4 separate regions of the Homo sapiens genome follow, and all the other regions are linked to region 3. Evidence: promoter capture Hi-C in human tissues and cell types (Jung and others, 2019). All regions are on one chromosome and are shown on one strand. Each heading gives the region's core, a stretch centred on a gene start or on the middle of the fragment in contact. The rest is flanking DNA. Distances are from core to core; before and after follow the strand shown. Region 1 holds the start of DMRT1 (doublesex and mab-3 related transcription factor 1). Region 2 overlaps LOC105375949 (a long non-coding RNA gene). Region 3 holds the start of DOCK8 (dedicator of cytokinesis 8). Region 4 has its middle 51 kb from the start of DMRT1.

Region 1 (2,700 bases), core at 1-2,500, 630 kb before region 3:
GCGGGAGCGAAGATCCTGAAGACTCCTCTAGCGCAATAAACCCTCCCAATTCTGTTGGAACGCGGGCTCTGGGATCGCGGGGAAGCCCAGAGGGGCGAACCCCGGAATTCCCTGCCCTGAGAGCGGGATCAGGGATCTCAGGGACCCGGGAGCAGAGGGAACCCCCGCAACTCCGCCGAAACACAGGGTGAGAGATCGTGGGGAACCCCGAGCCGAGCGAAGCCCGCAACTCTGCCCGGCGGGCGGGATCAGACGCGTCTCCGGCGCTCCCAGACCGGCGATGTAGCGTGGCCGGGAGCCCAGGACCCCAAGCGCCGCCGCTGTCGGCAAGTACCGCCGCATCTCTCCACAACCCAGGACCCGCATGGCAACGGCCATGCTGGGGGGACTTCATTCAAGAAACTCGGGCCCCGCCGGGAGCGGTGGCCCACGCCTGTAATCCCAGCACTTTGGGAGGCCGAGGCGGGTGGATCACCTGAGGTCAGGAGCTCGAGACCGGCCTGACCAATATGGTGAAACCCCCGTCTCTACTAAAAATACAAAAATTAGCCGGGCATGGTGGTGTGCGCCTGTAGTCCCAGCTACTTGGGAGGCTGAGGCAGGAGAATTGCTTGAACCCGGGAAGCGGAGGTTGCAGTGAGCCAAGATCGCGCCACTACACTGCAGCCTGGGCAACCGAGCGAGACTCCATCTAAAAAAAAAAAAAAAAAAAAAAACTAAGGCTGAACCCGGGCTCCCGCACGCCCGCACCCACCTGCGCGGCCATCACGCGCTGCCTCTCGGCGATCAGGTTGCACTTCTTGCACTGGCAGTCGCGCCACATGCAGAAGCGCTTGTGGCCCTTGAGCGGCGAGGCGTAGCCGTGGTTCCTGCAGCGTGCGCACTTGGGCAGCCGCGGGGACTTCTTGCTCCCGGCACCCAGGTCCGACGCCCCGGAGCCGGAGCCGCCTCCTCTGCTGCTGCCCCCGGCGCTCGAGCCGCTGGCCGCCCCCACTAGCGCCCCAGACGCTTTGCCAAAGCCCCCGGCTCTGCCCTGCGGCGGTACCCCGGGGGCGTGAGGGGCTTCCGACGGTGTAGAGGGCTTGCTGAATGCCTCGTCGTTGGGCATGGTGCCCCTAGGAGAAGTGCGAGCACTCTGGCCCCCTCTCTCGCCTGGAGACTGCTGCGAGGGATGAACCCGACGGACAGCGACGCTCCGGAGGAGGAGGCGCAGGAGACGTGTGCGCTGCAGCCGGAGGCGCAGCTGGAGTGGCGAGGTCTGGGCACGCCACGCCCGGAGTGGTGGGGGGTTGTGCCTTTTCTTTTGGCGCGCGCGCGACTCAGAACTTTCGGATACTTTTCAGAACATTCCCGGGACTGCCTGGGAGGGAGCGTGGCCACGCCCACCGCCCCCCGACTCCAGCCACCGCTCTCCAGCTGCTTGCAAACTTGCACCGGCTGCAAGCATCCAGGGCTTTGCTGCAGGGTCCCTGCAAGCGCACCGAGAGATACAGAGCGGCCTGGGAATCGCGTGGCACCCCTCGCCCCGCTCTCGGAGGCGCCAAGACCCGGTTGCCAAAGCACGGTGCACCGAGGAAGCTGGGCTCCCCAGGTCAAGACCAGAGCCGTGCTTGCATGCTTAGAGGAGGTGCAAACCACCCTATGGGGTCTTCTAGCTCCCTTTCCCCCAGAGAGACGCACCAGATTTGATAGAGCCGACCTTGGCAGCAGCCAAGTCAGAAAAAAATTTTTTTTCTCGCTTAAGAGAATTAAATATGAGGTGGAAGGCCTGAGAAATTTATAGGGTAAATCAGAGTTGCCCTATATACGGCAAAGAAGATCCTCAGTGTTGGGGCACAAGCACTTCAAAAATCTCAAAGGTTGGAACTTTCTGTTCTCCGTTTATCCCTTCCTGCACCTGTCTTCATTTGCTCACAACACTTCTACCTCCTTCGCTCCAAATAACTTTACGATCTACTGTTGCAGCCCGTGTTCCCGTTCACTTCAGGTGCATATAGCTTCTTGTCTGTGAGGCTGTTTAAACTTAGACTCTGCAGGCACGGGAAACTCAAACTTAAAAAGAAACATATGTATTAAAAAAAACTGAGGTTGTGGGGGGTGGTTACACAGATGTAGAAATGTATCAAAACTCATTCTACACTTCATATCTTGCATTTTACAGTATGTCATTATACCTCTACACACACACACACACACACACACACACACACACACACACACACCCCTGGCTCGATCATCTTACAGCCTGTCCCAGGGTTCTCATCCTGAACTCCCGCCCCAGCCATGCCTGTGTCCTCTCTGCACCTGCACAACAAATGTATCCCTAAGGCCTGCTGAGCAGTTCTTCCTACACACCCACGTGCCCCCCTAAGGCCAGCCCTTCACCTCAAGTCTGAATCTCTGCGGTAGCTCCCAGCTGCTATCTCCATGTCTTAGTCTTCCGGTATATTCTATACACACAGCAGGGGGCCCCAGCAGTACTTTGCTATTGTTTTCCATGTTAACAAGTTAAAGACCCCGGAGTGGCTCTTAATGCACTTTGAATGCTCCTTATTTTCCACCAGCACTGGTACTCACCTTCAGGATCCTGGGCCGCCTCCAGACCTAGGGGATTATTTCTCCAAAGAGGCATGGTCACCCTGTTCAACTTCTCATCAAAATGGTTGTACTGTGGCCACCTCTTTCAGCAGTTTGGTGTTT
Region 2 (2,700 bases), core at 12-2,511, 590 kb before region 3:
ACACCACACACACCAGACACACACACACCACACACCACACACACACACCACACACACCACACACACACACCACACACACACACCACACACACCACACACACACACCACACACACCACACACACCACACACACACACCACACACACACACACACACACACACACACACACGTTGCAGAGCAGCATTATCTTATAACCTGTAAAGGATTGTACTAAATGGGAACTAAATGGTCATTGTGATGGTTATTTTGTTTGTTTGTTTGTTTTTGAGACGGAATCTCTCTGTCACCAGGCTGGAGTGCAGTGGCACAATCTCAGCTCACTGCAACCTCTGCTCCCCGGTTCAAGCGATTCTTCTGTCTCAGACTCCCTAGTAGCTGGGACGACAGGCACAAGCCACCACGCCCACGCCCAGCTAATTTTTTTGTATTTTTAGTAGAGACAGGGTTTCACCATGTTGGCTTGGATGGTCACTGCAGTAAGCATTTTGCCTGCATTATTTGTTTAATCCTCAGAACAACCCTATGAAGCATATACTACTGTTGTTCACCTTTTATAAATTAAGAGAGGCTCTGAGAAGTTAACAGCTGTCAACTTTTAAGTAGCAGAGCTGTGAATCGTACTCATCTCTGTTCCCCACACAGCTCCCAGGCTGCAGCCACTGCAGAGGATAGCATCCTCTGGAAGTGTTCTTAGTATCTATGCGAATTTTGTCCTTGGGGCCATCTCACCTCTCATTCCCCTTCTCTTCCACTCCTGGCCTGCTCCCTTGTTCCTATTACCCAGTATAAAACTTATTCCTCCTGAATCAGGGTTGGAAAGCAATCTGATAAATAGTTATTATTGGCTTGGGATTCCTAGCATTTGCCTTTCAGCAAAGGATATCTGTAACTCCCAAAAACTGAGTGGTGGGATTTGAGCAGGGGGGAGGAATTTCAGCAGGTGGGTAAAGTATTTGGAGGCTATGTGAGTTAGGCTACTGACAGGAGGAGGGTGGTACCCTTAGGTGGGGAATGGAGGAGAATTTAATAAAGAGATAATTTACAGAAGTTTGAGGAAGGTTAAGGGAAACCAACATGGGATAGCAACAGGCCTCCCTGGGGATGGCAACAAAGGGAGCCACCACCATCCGACACCTGAAGGGACAAGGAATAGTCCTAGGAACCCAAGAAAGGGGCTGAAGCTTTGGAGAATGCCATCTGGCAGAGGCCTTGGCTTCAGCAGAGACCTGCAGCCAACCTCTGGTCACCCAGCAGGGAGAAAACCAGGGAAAGAAAGACTCCTTCCTTGCCCTTGTCCTACCCTCCTACTTTTAAGGGTACCTTTTATGACCACACGCAAACTAAAGCTAGAGGACAAGGGGCCTGTTGATGCAGTCCATAGAGGCCAGATTTTGGGACACAGAGCAGAGTGGAGAAGAGGGCACAGGGGACCTGGAGGGCAGCGCTACAGCCTAGGATGGTGGCCGTCTGTGACAGGTGAACACAGGGCCAGTTTCATAAATGAAACACAGAGGATACCTCAGTTTTCATCAAGTGGCTGGGAGCATAGCAACGAAGGACACAGGGAGCTGGACTGCCTGGCCTGAAGACTGCCCTGCCATTTCTACCTTGGTGACTTTGGTGAAGTTCCTTAACCCTTCTGTGCCTTGGTTTCCTTATCTGTGAAACAGGCATGATAATCTCTACTCATAGGATTGTGAGGATAGAATTAATTGTAGCACTTGAACAAGGTCTGACTGAATTAACACCATCCTTATGACACTCCAGGTACAAAGCAGGTAGGAAGAAGCAATGTGCCCTTAGGTACTTACACGCTAAGCGGGAGACAGACACACCAGCCCTCACGACACAAGGTTAGGTGAGCTGGCAACTGAGGAGAAAGACTTGGCCGAAGGAGGGGTTGATCCTGCACCTCAGTGGGTCAGGTAGGGTTTTGCAGAGGAGGAGCCTTGAGCAAGGACTTGCAGAATGAGTTGATTTGCAGATGTGCCCAGTACACATCAATTAACAGTTCTGGAACTTTAAGGAAGGAAGGAAGTCCAGTTGGGTATTAAAAAGACTGGTAGATTTGTGGATTGTCAGAGGACAAGAAAGAACCCTGGAAATTAGGGCACAACTAAGCAGTGCAACAAGAATCCAGTAGGTGGCATAAATACCCCATTCATTTGGAGTTCCATTTGTCGTTTTTTTGTTTTGGTTTTTGGGTTTTTTTTTGTTTTGGATTTGGTGAATTTCTTTTTTTCTTCTTCCCTTCCTTAAGCTGCCCATTTCACCAACACTGTTGTTAGCAGTTTTATATGATCTTTATTTAATGCAATTAGATTTGCCTTTAGATCAAAGCAAACTATTTACAATTGATATAATAACTAAGCACCTCTCCAGAAAGAAGGTTGACTGCTTTGCAAGTATGAGCCCATTGTCTTAGTCCATGTGTGCTGCTGTAACGAAATATCACAGACTGGGTAATTTACAGCCATGAGCCACTATGCCCGAGGTGCTAAGGCCACCTCTTCACCTCTTTTTTTTTTTTTTTTTGTGATGGAGTTTCACTCTTGTTCCTCAAGCCAGAGTGCAATGGGGCAATCTCGGCTCACTGCAACCTCTGCCTCCCAGGTTCAAGTGATTCTCCAGCCTCAGCCTCCCGAGTAGCTGGGATTACAGGCATGTGCCACCATGCCTGGCTAATTTTTTTGTATGTTT
Region 3 (2,700 bases), core at 1-2,500:
GGAAATAAAATCGTCAATAAAGCTCGATATGCCCTCTAGAAGACCTTATCGCCTTGTTTTTCTAGGCTTTTAATTCCTTGTTCAAACCTCTTCACACACTAACAGCACAAAGATGAACCTACGGTGGAATCCACCTTTCACAGGCTCAGCTAAGTGAAGATTAACAAATCGGACAGCCCTGTGGGCAATAGAATAAGTTGACACTTTAGAATGAGTTTCCTATTATCTTTTAACTAGACAGTCTAGCTTTCTCAGGGCAAGACAAAAATGTCCCAATTACTTGTCAGCAGTTTTTAGTGGAGGAAAAACTGCAGTTAAAGCACCTTTACTGAGAACTTTGAGCAGTAAATGTGCTTACATATTTAGTTTGTGCAACTTTGATTAGGAATTGGATGGTGAGTTGGGATCCCCCAGTCCTTAGCTTTTTGCTGGAGTTCTGTAAATCTCAAAATGTCAGCCACAGGCCATTTCTTTTGGTTTATTTAAGTGTAGATTTTTTAAAAAATCACTTTTTCCACTTCATGGCTCCTTTGGACCAGGGTATAAAAATAGCGATGCCACCAGGAGCCAAGCTCTTTCTGGAATAATGAAGCAGGCGAGGACGGAGCCTTGCTCAGGACGACAGAAGGCTTGCAGCCTGCCTCAAACGCAACTCTAATTTCAGCCACTTCACTTCTTCCCCCCGCGCTCAGACTTGCCTCAAAGGAAGGAGCCGTTTATGAGACACTCCGTGGCGCGCCCAACACGGTTACCCAGGCGCCTATCACCCTTCTGGGACCCGGCCACCTGTAAGAACCTGGAGGGCGGAGCGGGCGAGGTTGTTCGGGGAAGGGATCCCCGGCGGCTGAGGACATCCAGGAGCACCGAGATTCTTGGGGAGGACCTCGCCGGGCCCAGCGCAGGAGCCGCCGCGCGTCCAGCGGCTCCACCGCCGCAGCCTCGGGAACCGGGCGCCCCAGGTCTCAGGCGCGCCCCGCCGCGGACGCGAATGGACTCGTCCGGCCTCGGCCCCTGCAGCGAAGCTCCGCTTCACACCAGCGCTGGGCTGTCCGGCCGCAACCTGCGCGCCGCGGGGGGCGTCTTACCTGTTGATCTTGAGCGCGAACGCGCGGCGCTCTGCGCTCGGCAGAGTGGCCATGGCCCGCCGGCGGTTCGGTGGCTTCTAGGGTCGCGGGGTGCGGAAAGCGGGGGCCTGGCGCGCCGCAGAGTAGCCGCGGAACATGCCCAGCCAAGCGCAAACCTCGTCTGTCGGTCGGCGCTGGAAACTTCCGCATTTCCACCTTCTAAGCCGAAATCACCCCGGGGGAGGGTCCGAGCTCGGAGCAGCGACGGCCGGCTCCGCCACCCGGCCTGGCGCGCAGGCAGCGGCGGGCGAGGAGGGCGTGGGCCCAGCGCGGAACTGGCCTCCCGATACTGGGGCAGACGGCGCGCTCTGCCCGGGGCCGCCGACCTCCGGCCGAAGGGAGCGCGGGCGGACGACAGGCGACCACTGCGCGCAGGCCGGAAGCTCCATCTGCCCGAAGCTGCGAGGCTGCCAGGGAATGTAGGCAAGTCGGGGGAGCCCCACAAAGCTGGCGAGGTCGGGAATCACCCCAGGGATTCGTAAGGCTAGGTGTTATTAAGGGTTGACACCATTCTCGAAGAAGGCAGCCAAAAAAAAAGACAAAAAAGTTAGTGGAATCTATCAGGATTCAAATCAACTTTTGCAAGCAATATGCCCATCATCCTTCCTGAGACACTAAATAAATATAATGGATTCATCCAAGGAATAAACATTATGAGTTCTCAAAAAATGTTTTCGTCACAACCTGGCGTGAATGCTTTTCTCCGGAGAAACACTGAAGGCGGCGTTCTTGCGATTCAAGGGTACGCTGCGTCCAGGTTTATTTCAGTTTCAGACTGAGGTCTGCTAAGAAGCCCGGCCTCAAACTCAAGATAAAAACAGAAAAGTCCCAGTGTTGACGGGAGTGGAGGAGCCCGTGTTCGCTTCAAGGTGCCGGCGTGCTGCTCTAACCTGTGCTATATATACTCGAGCACTCTCCATATAATGCCTCCATTTACCAACTTGCTCTTAAAAAATACCAAAGCAGGCCGGGCGCGGTGGCTCACGCCTGTGATCCCAGCACTTTGGGAGGCCGAGGCGGGCGCATCACGAGGTCAGGAGATCGAGACCATCCTGGCCAACGTGGTGAAACCCCGTCTCTACTAAAATACAAAAAATTAGCCGGGCGTGGTGGCGCACGCCTTAGTCCCAGCTACTTGGGAGGCTGAGGCAGGGGAATCACTTGAACCCGGGAGGCGGAGCTTGCAGTGAACCGAGATCTGCCACTGCACTCCAGCCTGGCGACAGAGCAAGTCTCCGTCTAAAAGAAAAAAAAAAAAACAACCAAAGCGAAGTATTTTTGGTTCAAACCTGCACTATTTAATATGATAGCCACTAGCCACATGTGGCTATTGACCACTCGGCATTATGGTTAGTCTGAATTGCCCACTGCTGGATGTGTAAAATGTACACTGGAATTTAAAGACAGCGCAGAAAACATCGTGTAAAATGTCTTGTTAATGATTTTCATGTTGATTGCATGTTAAATGATACTTTGGATATAAAAAATATATTATTAAAGTTAATTTCACCTGTTTGTTTTCCCCTTTTAAAAATGTGGTTTGCATTTTTAAAAATGTAAAATTACACATGTGGCT
Region 4 (2,700 bases), core at 201-2,700, 580 kb before region 3:
AGTGTGGTGGGAAGCTATCACTCACCTCGCAGGTGGGAGAGGTGATGTTGGGGGATGTGGCTCCTTTGAAATATCCGCCTGTTCTGGTCGGCCGGTGCGGTGGCTCACACCTGTGATCCCAGCACTTTGGGAAGCCGAGGTGGGTGGATCATGAGGTCAGAAGATCGAGACCATCCTGGCCAACGTGGTGAAACCCCGTCTCTACTAAAAATACAAAAATTAGCCGGGCGTGGTGGCACACACCTGTAATCCCAGCTACTCAGGAGGCTGAAGCAGGAGAATCACTTGAACCTGGGAGGCGGAGGTTGCTGTGAGCCGAGATTGCGCCACTGCATTCCAGGCTGGGCGACAGAGCGAGACTCAATCTCAAAAAAATTGTGCCTGTTCTTTCCTCTGGAGACGGGTAGAGCAGCCTCACAGGGTACGGCCAGGAGGGAGGCACCCCGTGGAAGAGGCATCTCAGGCACGGTCTCGGGAAGGATCGTGGTTGTGCCAGAAGGATTGTTTCCTCCAGCCTACTCCTGAACCTGGAAACCAGCAGCTGCTCTCTCAATCAAGGAGAAAGAAAGTAGAGGCCGCACCTTCCTTACGTGGTGCTCATGGATTCAGGGAAGAAACCCAAATCATGACATGAAGGTATCTTACCTGGGGTCTTTGGTTTAAATTTGCTGTGTGTGACTAATTTAAAGAGATTTGTACTGTTTCTCATAGGTAGCCTTTTCCTTTCTCATTGCTACACAGTTGTAATTATCCTGGGTAATTTCCTTTCAAATATTTTTGTTTTATTTTAAAAATGTGAACATTGGCCGGGCGCAGTGGCTCACACCTGTAATCCCAGCACTTTGGGAGGCCGAGGCGGGTGGATCATTTGATGTCAGGAGTTCAAGACTAGCCTGGCCAATGTGGTGAGACCCCTGTCTACTAAAAATACAAAAACTAGCTGGGCGTGGAGGTGTGCACCTGTAGTCCCAGCTACTTGGGAGGCTGAGGCAGGAGAATAGCTTGAAACCGAACCTGGGAGGCAGAGGTTGCAGTGAGCCAAGATCGCGCCGTTGCACTCCAGCCTGGGCGACGGAGTGAGACTCCGTCTCAAAAAATAAATGTAAAAATGTGAACATTGATGTAGTATTTCCCCTACATATTTTAGTTTTACATTTCCTAAAACTACAAAAAGCAAAATAAGCAGAAAAGAAGCACACTTGGTTCAGACCTAAATGCTCTGATACCGTAGTTTCCCACCATACGCAGCAGAGCATGTGGGTTAAGAACATGGGCACAGAGGTAGTTTGGTTCACCTATGGGGGCCTCTGTAGTTCATTTAACATCTCAGAGCCTTTAGTGTCCTCTTTTTTAAAATGAGGATGGTGAGAGCCTCTTAAGATTTTTGTGGTAATATAATGAGCTACTGCGTGTAAAATTAGGTACGGCCTGGCCCAGAGTAAGTGCTCAACTATCATTAGCTGGGAGCAGACCAGGGGCTAAGGTAAGTGTATCCTCAGGAGAGTAAGCTAATCAGCCACTTTGGAGCATGCCCCCAGCTCTCACACAGGAAGATTTAGTCACTGTCCTGGGTTGACAATTGTCATATCACCCCCCACCCCCAAATTCATGTTCACCTGCAACCTCAGAATGTGATCTCATTTGGAAATAGGATCTTTGTAGATGTAATTAGTCAATTTAAAGTGAGGTCAGGCTGGGCACAGTGGCTCATGCCTATAATCCCAGCACTTTGGGAGGCTGAGGCGGGCAGATTGCTTGAGCCTAGGAGTTGGAGACCAGCCTGGGCAACATGGCAAAACTCCTCCCTACCAAAAATACAAAAATTATCCTGATGTGGTGGCGTGCCCCTGTAGACTCAGCTATTCAAGGGGCTGAGGTGGGAGGATTGCTTGAGCCCTGGAGGTCAAGGCTGCAGTGAGCCATGACCCACTGCACTCTAGCCTGGGTGACAGAGATCCTGTCCAAAAAAGCCAAAAAAAACAAATTGATGTCATACTGGATTAGAGGGGGCTAATTCAATTCCTGGTATCCTTATATGAAGAGGGAGAATGTGGACACAGACACACAGGGGACAACACCATGTGAAGACCCAGACACAGAGGGAAGAGGACCGGATGAAGACAGGTAGAGTTTGCAGTGATGTATCTACACACCAAGGAATGCCAGGGTTGCTAGCCACCACTGGAAGTGAGTGGAGACAAGGGCTCTCTTATATTCTTCAAAGAGAGCTTAGTGCTGCCAGCACCTTGATTTTGGACTTCCAGCCTCCAGAGCTGTGAGACAATTTATATTGTTTTAAGTCACCCAGTTTGTAGTAATTTTGTTACAGTAGTCCTCGCAAACCAATAGTCATTTAGCAGAGACCACACTGCATTGAGTGGGCCTTATGCCCTGCTTTCAGCTAAAGCCTCTTGCTTTCTTTAGTGGGAAATTTTAGCATGAAGGAGATTAAGAGAACAAGACTTTAGGGTTTTGACAAATGGGCTATAGCTGATACTTCATTAGATTGTCAGGCATGTGAACAGATTGAGGAGGATCTTAACATGCATTAATTACTGAACTCAGAAATGTTGCTGCAGCAGCAGCAGCACTGACAGGCTTTCCCTGTGACTTTTTTTTTTTTTTTTTTTTTTTTTTTTTTTTTTTTTTTTTTTTTTTTTTTTGGCCAAGGTCTCACTCTGTTGCCGAGGCTGAAGTGCA

The links. Contacts are between HindIII fragments. The study calls those that stand out against the background at their distance.
Region 1: the fragment with the promoter of DMRT1 here is called in contact with the fragment with the promoter of DOCK8 in region 3 in 4 of the 25 tissues and cell types used here (H1 embryonic stem cells, IMR-90 fibroblasts, dorsolateral prefrontal cortex and 1 more).
Region 2: a fragment that was not itself captured here is called in contact with the fragment with the promoter of DOCK8 in region 3 in 1 of the 25 tissues and cell types used here (mesenchymal stem cells).
Region 4: a fragment that was not itself captured here is called in contact with the fragment with the promoter of DOCK8 in region 3 in 2 of the 25 tissues and cell types used here (dorsolateral prefrontal cortex and thymus).

The regions. Positions count from the first base shown.
Region 1 is chr9:840,247-842,946 of GRCh38, reverse strand. DMRT1 (doublesex and mab-3 related transcription factor 1) reads right to left here and starts at 1,250. Exons shown (of 5, transcript NM_021951.3): 1 at 755-1,250. The coding sequence starts at 1,108. The HindIII fragment of the contact is 5,420 bases long and covers 1-2,700 here.
Region 2 is chr9:806,193-808,892 of GRCh38, reverse strand. All of the region lies in intron 1 of LOC105375949 (a long non-coding RNA gene), which reads left to right. Among named protein-coding and RNA genes, the nearest start is that of DMRT1, 34 kb to the left of the region's middle. The HindIII fragment of the contact is 3,829 bases long and covers 1-2,700 here.
Region 3 is chr9:213,415-216,114 of GRCh38, reverse strand. It overlaps DOCK8 (dedicator of cytokinesis 8), which reads right to left and starts at 1,250. Exons shown (of 48, transcript NM_203447.4): 1 at 1,086-1,250. The coding sequence starts at 1,138. DOCK8-AS1 (DOCK8 antisense RNA 1) reads left to right here and starts at 365. Exons shown (of 1, transcript NR_160804.1): 1 at 365-2,658. RefSeq lists silencers at 776-915, 1,086-1,135, 1,186-1,235, 1,246-1,495. The HindIII fragment of the contact is 11,669 bases long and covers 1-2,700 here.
Region 4 is chr9:789,569-792,268 of GRCh38, reverse strand. No RefSeq gene overlaps it. Among named protein-coding and RNA genes, the nearest start is that of DMRT1, 51 kb to the left of the region's middle. The HindIII fragment of the contact is 5,334 bases long and covers 1-2,700 here.